Linked DNA regions of Homo sapiens: region 2 is linked to region 1. Evidence: promoter capture Hi-C in 16 types of primary human blood cells and fetal thymus (Javierre and others, 2016). All regions are on one chromosome and are shown on one strand. The core of a region is centred on a gene start or on the middle of the fragment in contact, and the rest is flanking DNA. Distances in the headings are between cores, read along the strand shown. Region 1 holds the start of MRPL44 (mitochondrial ribosomal protein L44). Region 2 overlaps CUL3 (cullin 3).

Evidence for each region. The method cuts DNA at HindIII sites, captures the fragments that hold promoters and counts their contacts. A CHiCAGO score of 5 or more calls a contact.
Region 2: a fragment that was not itself captured here is called in contact with the fragment with the promoter of MRPL44 in region 1 in 1 of 17 cell types (erythroblasts); the score reaches 5.7 in erythroblasts.

The regions. Positions count from the first base shown.
Region 1 is chr2:223,956,114-223,959,391 of GRCh38, reverse strand. MRPL44 (mitochondrial ribosomal protein L44) reads right to left here and starts at 1,929. Exons shown (of 4, transcript NM_022915.5): 1 at 1,741-1,929. The coding sequence starts at 1,919. RefSeq lists an enhancer at 1,845-2,014 and a silencer at 2,085-2,154. The HindIII fragment of the contact is 10,687 bases long and covers 1-3,278 here.
Region 2 is chr2:224,509,398-224,512,904 of GRCh38, reverse strand. It overlaps CUL3 (cullin 3), which reads left to right. Exons shown (of 16, transcript NM_003590.5): 6 at 1,323-1,551. Among named protein-coding and RNA genes, the nearest start is that of CUL3, 74 kb to the left of the region's middle. The HindIII fragment of the contact is 1,041 bases long and covers 1,711-2,751 here.

The DNA of each region.
Region 1 (3,278 bases), core at 680-3,179:
TCTAAATGTTAAGACTAAAGTCAGATAAATACTGGCAGTCCTTTGCTATATTCTACATATATGACTGGATTAATTTTCCCTTTGATCCAATTGTCACATGAAATTGGTTCTTCAATATAAAAGACCAAGCCATTAGCCTAACTTTTAGGTTCCTTATTTCTGCTCTAACCATGATACTATGTTTTATACCTAAGTATGAAGCATAAATGTTAATTTCACAGATTCAAGCCATAAACACTAGTATGTTATATTTGCAGTCATCCCTCAATATCTGTAGGGGATTGGTTCCAAGGACTCTCCTGGATACTGAAATTCATGGATGCTCAAGTCTCTCATATAAATGGTGTAGTACAGGCACACTTCGTTTCACTGTACTTCGGTCTATTGTGCTTCACAGATTTATTGCATTTTATTTTTACAAACTGAAGGTCTGTAGCAATTCTGCATGTGCTCACTTTGTGTCTCTGTGTTACCATTTTTTAGCAATAAAGTATTTTAAATTAAGGTACATATATTGCTTTTTAGACACTACTACTGTACACTTAATAAACTACAGAATAGTATAAACATAACTTAGGTATACACTGGGAAACTAAAAAAGTCATGTGACTCGTTTTATTGTCGTGGTCTAGAACCAACCCTACAATATGTATGAGGTATACCTGTATCTGCATATAACCTATGCACATCCTCCTGTATACTTTAAGTCATCTCTGGATTACTTATACGTAACACAATATAAAACCCCTTTAAGAAACAAAGGGAAGCAAAGTATGAAAACCTAGGTTGAAAGTCGTAAGATATACATATAACATATACACCTATATAATCTGTCCAACCCATAAAGTTTCTTCCACCTTTGAGAGCCTAAAATACTTAATCTTATAATAAACAAGGGAATGGGAATTAAGAAGAGATTTTATTTTTTGCTATAATCTTCTCTGTTAGAAGACCGTTCCTACTGGTAGGAGTACAAAGTGGATCAACATTTTTTGGAGGGCAATGTTAAAGTACTAATAGCTTTCAAAATTTCATACTACACATGCGTCCCCTTTACGCGCTGTTACATAGGTTTTAATGGCAATAATATGGAGCTCATAGGCCCATATATACAGAGCCATAAAAAAGAGTGAGGTACATATCTTTGTAATACCATGACAACATGTCAAACACACATTATTAAAGAGAAAAAGCAAGATGAAGGAATTTAAATTATGTAAAGTATGATCTGGTTTGAAGCTATAAAAACCTGTGTCTCTCTCTGCCAAACCTGTTACCAGAACAGCATTAATTAGGGCAAAAATCTAAAGCTAACTTTTTTTCCTTTTACTCTAGACAGCAGAATTCAGGTTGTAGATTAATTTTTTTTCTCCTTAATTTACGATGCTGTGGGCTGCTTTCTTCCCGCTTATCGGAATTCTCAGGCATTACAAACGGGGACTACAACATCCAAGTCCACATAAGGAAGACCCTCCAGTTAGCCCCATTTCTCCCAATTTTCAGTAGCCAAAATCCTAAATGGTAGTTTCAAAACGTCGGGAACAGCCCGAAGCTCTACCGCCCGCGGCACAAATCCATTTTTTTTGCCTCAGGCCCCGCGCCCACAGCTCACGGGTGTCTCCATCGCAAACTTCCTAAGGCTTAACCCAGGGGCGCATCAGCCGCAGACACGACGCCGCGGGAAGAAGACCCAGTGTCTGCGACCGCCACCCTGAGACCTCTTCCCGAGGTGGCTCCTACCGGCGCACGGGCGGCGGCGGGCACCGCAGAAGGCGCTGCCGCTCTAACTCCTTCTGGAAGCGGAAGGCGGCGCGGAATCCCTTCTTCACTCCCCGAACCGGAGGGACCAGCTTGGGGGCGACTGGAGCCAGGAGGCAGCGATGTCCCTGCTGCAGCAATCTTACCAGCCCGGACGCCATTGCACGAGAGAAAACGATGGAAGACGGAACGAAAGTAGTCGGGCCAGTGTCCCCGTAACACACTTCCCCCGGAACCCGGAACGCGGAACGCGAAGAGAAGGCTGGGGCGGAGACAGCCCCCGGGGCGGGGCGACTGAGAGAGGGCAGGGGCGGAGACAGCCCCGGGGCGGGGTGATTGCGGCCGCCTTGAGGCTACGCTTGCGCTAGTTCTCTCCTCTCTTCGAGTTACTTTCCAATGATCCGGACTTGAGGGCGTTTGCGCCCAAAAGTTTCTGGGAGAAGTTGCTTCACCCTGTCACTCTCTTGTTCCTTCCTCTCTCGTTACAGCAAAACAAACAAAAATCTGTTTCGCTTTCAGGTTAAGGAAACATTTAAATCCTCAAAAAAAGAAAACATTTTTAATTTATATTTAGTGTTCTAGGCCACTACTGAGCAAGTATTTACCGAGCTTCTATTTTTGACCCAGCACGCCTCCAAAAGCCTTAGTTTTGGAAACCCTAGACTCAGAAATGTTGGCTTATCCAAAATTAAAATTTTTCTTTAAAAGCAATCTAATAGTACATATTTTTAAACATCCGGAAAATGACTGGAAAAAAACATAAAACGGTAATAGGGGAATTACAGTTTCTTCCTTCTTTATGTTAACACTCTTTAACAATGTAATTCTATTGCTTTCCTACCAAACTGTTAATACAGTACAATTTTTAAAAGAACATATTAAGTCACAAAGGGAGGCTTGTTTGAATTCCCAGTTTTGAGTTGCCTGCTGAACATCTAGACCCTCAAAGGGGCAATGCTTTCTGTGATCTCTTTGTTAAAGGCATCTGTGTCCCCAGCAGTCACCCAGATTGAACTCCTATGTCTTTGATTGTTTTTGTTTCGACAAACCCCCTCTTCGGTGCAGTTTCCACCAAGTGCTTTTTCCATTTATTTCCACTGCAGGTACCTGGTGGCTCTCCTCACCTCTTTCCGTGGTTAGTGTAATTGGCCTGGTACCTTCCTCCCTTCCCCAGACACAGCTCACCTACATTCATCTCTCTGAAACACAGACCACAAAGCATGTTATGACTTAGCCCGAGAATCTTCAGTGCCAGGATCATAGAACTCAATTTGGGTTTCTCAGCTTGACCATTTCAAAAGGGAGAATCTAAATGGTTCATCTCAGCTTATAAAAGGGTTCCCTTTGGGGAGGGAGAGAGCAAAAGAGGGGCTGAGCACACACCAAAAAACAAACTGATGGATTTCTGGTTGAAGGAAATTCTCCAAGAAGGGGTGAAAGGAGGTTACGATTGACCTTCTTGTTTCAATGTATGTAAAGTATTGAAAATTCATGGAACATCAATCCAATAAATGGATTAG
Region 2 (3,507 bases), core at 982-3,481, 550 kb before region 1:
CCTGTGCAGTTCAAACTTGTGTTGTTCAAGGGTCAACTGTATGTTATGAAACTGTAAACTTAGAAATATCCTTAACTTTTTACTATATCTAATATTATAAATTATTTAAGTACTATAAATTCACAGCAGTACATCACCAACGAAGTCTCATCTGCAGGCTTTTAGTCACTTAAATTACTAGTAAAACACACATAAGGATATGGATGATTCTGTAGTGCATATTTGCCTAAAGGTTGTTGATTAAAATATTACAGGCCAATGGTACTATTGATAGAAATTGGCAACAGTGGTCCAAACCAACTAAATTGCTAAAAGTAAAGCTAAACTGGTACTAATCTGTAATGAAATGATGATAACAACAATAATTGAGTACTAGTAAACATAAGATAGTAGTTATAAGGTAACTGTAACAAGGCATTTTTCCTGAAAACCGTAACTACCTGAGCAGTTAACAGTAGGAATTTTGTAGTGTTGCCAAAACAGATGTATTCGTAGGAAGCTAAAGTGTTGGCCGGGCACAGTGGCTCACGCCTGTAATCCCAGCACTTTGGGAGGCTGAGACGAGTGGATCACTATATCAGGAGATTGAGACCATCCTGGCTAACACGGTGAAACCCCATTTCTACTAAAAATACAAAAAAATTAGCCGGGCGTGGTGGCGGGCGCCTGTAGTCCCAGCTACTCGGGAGGCTGAGGCAGGAGAATGGTGTGGACCCGGGAGGTGGAGCTTGCAGTGAGCTGAGATCGCGCCACTGCACTCTAGCCTGGGTGACAGAGCGAGACTCTGTCTCAAAAAAAAAAAGAAAAAAAAGATGAATAGTTATTTAAAAGCTCTTATTTTCAAACTTTAGTGTACATGTTTACTCTTTGAGACTGGGAGTGGGATGGCACTGGAAGACTTAATTAACCAGCAGTATGCCAGCAAAGCTTATGATAAACATGATGAATCTTTCTGGTTATAATTTTACATTAAAACAAATCAAAAAAGAATGTCCCACTGTATCTTGGAGTCAGATGCTTCTAAGCTTTTGACCCTCACTGGCGTGTATATACTTGTTCTGCTATTTTTTGGAGTACATTGGCACAGTTTGAAAAACATTGCTTACAGATAATGTTTTAATTTAGTATTATGTAAATACCAAAGGCTTTAAAGGATATAATTCAGACTATATCAGTCTTTCGTGTAATGAGAAATTACACAAAATGCTAATAGTACTTATTTTATTTAGGCTGATTTATTATAAACACTGTAGAAACCCAGCTAAAAGCAAAAACACTCTTTTCTTCTATGTTTAAAAAATATATATATTTTTAAATGGCAGATGGAAAGCCAGAAATTTTTAGCAGAAAATAGTGCTTCAGTATATATAAAGAAAGTAGAAGCTAGAATTAATGAAGAAATAGAACGAGTGATGCACTGCCTTGACAAATCAACGGAAGAACCAATTGTAAAGGTGGTTGAAAGGGAACTCATTTCCAAGCACATGAAGACTATAGTAGAAATGGAGAATTCTGGGCTAGTACATATGTTGAAAAATGGAAAGACAGAAGGTAAGTGTTACCGATTGAAAAATAATTAAATCCTTACTCTGCCTTATCGATATTTTTAAAATTTTCCTACAATTAAAGCAGATAATATCAGCTTTCAAGAAGTTTTGGTGTGTATTGTTAATTTGTCTCCATTGTTAACTTTAATGGGATTTCCAAGCTTGATTCTGTCTTACTAACGAAGATTTTAGATATTTCTAATGAATTGAGCATTTCCTGTCTTTAAGTCTCATTTTACATTTAATCCAGAAGATAAAAGGTGTAATAGTATTGGTGAGCCCAGTGAGCTCCTCATTCATTCCTGTACTTCCTGTATACCAAAGGGTGTGGGCTCTCTTTAGTCCTACATACTCTCTTGGGGTTTTGTGATTCTCTTAAAACCTTAAGTTTCCACCTTAAGATTTTTGTAGACTTTCCTTTGGGATTTAGTTGTGACAGGGTGCTGAAAATGCAAAAATATTTGTGTCTTCCATATTGACATACTTAGATAAATTAGATTGGTTTGGGGAACACTGAAGTTACAGAATGGAAAAGGAGGAAGGAGGAGTGCATAAAAGTAAAGAACATTTTTGAGATAACTAACATTTGTTTTTTATAGCTATTTATTTTCCTGGGGTAAAAGAAAAATTGTGACAAGTATCCTAGAAGAAATTACAAGTTAAAAGAACAATAACCATATCCTCTATTCTTAGTTTCTGATGCTTTGTTTTAAAACTTTGCCTTTACCACTTATATGGTATTAGGAAATAAAAAACATGGTACTTTGTTCTCCTGCTTCCTAGACGAAATCTAAGCAATATTTTATCCACTTCTTTTTAGTAAAAGAAATACATATTGCCTGTTGGGGTCATGAGCTATGTAGGGAATGAAAAAATTTTTTAAAGGAGAATTATAAAGAGAAGGAGGATACAAGAGAAAGGAAAACGAAAGCTGGTGGGAAGTTGAGCCATGTTTATCTCTAGTGGAATCCTTACCTTGTGTTTTAAAATTGTTAAATGTTTGTATATATGAGAAATCCCTGAAAAGTTATATGTAATTTAAAAAAACAAAAAAAAAACAAAAAAAACTAGAGAGGCTTCCTTTTTAAAAGACTCTTCAGTTAAACCTTTTTTGTAAAAGCCAAAAAAAAAAAAAAAACAGAAGTCATCTAGTATATTTGCTGTGTTTTCTAAAATTGAGGTCCAAGTCAGGGGTTGGCAAGCTTTTTTGTTGTTGAATAAAATGGCTTGTGAGCCACGCAGTCATAGTGAGAAAATAGTCCTAGACAATAACAAATGAATAATCCTGTGTTTCTATAAGACTTTATTTATGGGCCCTGAAACTTGAATTTCATATAATTTTTATGTGTCACTAAATAGCATTCTTTACAGTTTTTCCTCAGCCATTAAAAATGTGAAAACCATCCTTAGTTCATGAGCTGTACATAAATAGATGGCAGGCTGTATTTGCCCCACGGGTTCTAATTCGATGACCCTTCTCTAAGTGGTCTCTGGTAGACTGGGACTTTATGCAAAGCATTTGCCCTGCTTAAACAAAATGAGTATTGATAAATTATGTAATGTACTGTTTAGGTATTGAATGAATGCTTTCTTACCTACCTTAGGGGATAGGAAATGTTTGATGGAGAGGTTGTTGGGCATACCTGAATTACAGCATCTCTGTAACCTGTGTGGAGATGTATGTAAAAGGTGTCAGGTATGCCTATCATGGCGAGCACTTACGTGAATGAAGGAATACCATAATAGTACTCACCAGAGTTCTCCTTTATTTAGTACCTTAGGTTTCCAACAACACAGTAGCTATCTGTGATTCTAAATTAAATTTTAAAATCCTGCTTTTGTCCAGGCAGGGTGGCAAACGCCTGTAATCTCAGTATTTTTGGGAGGCTGAAGCAGGTGGATCGCTTGAGCTCAGGAGTTTAAGACCAACCTGGGCAAATTGGTGAAACCCTGTCTCTAT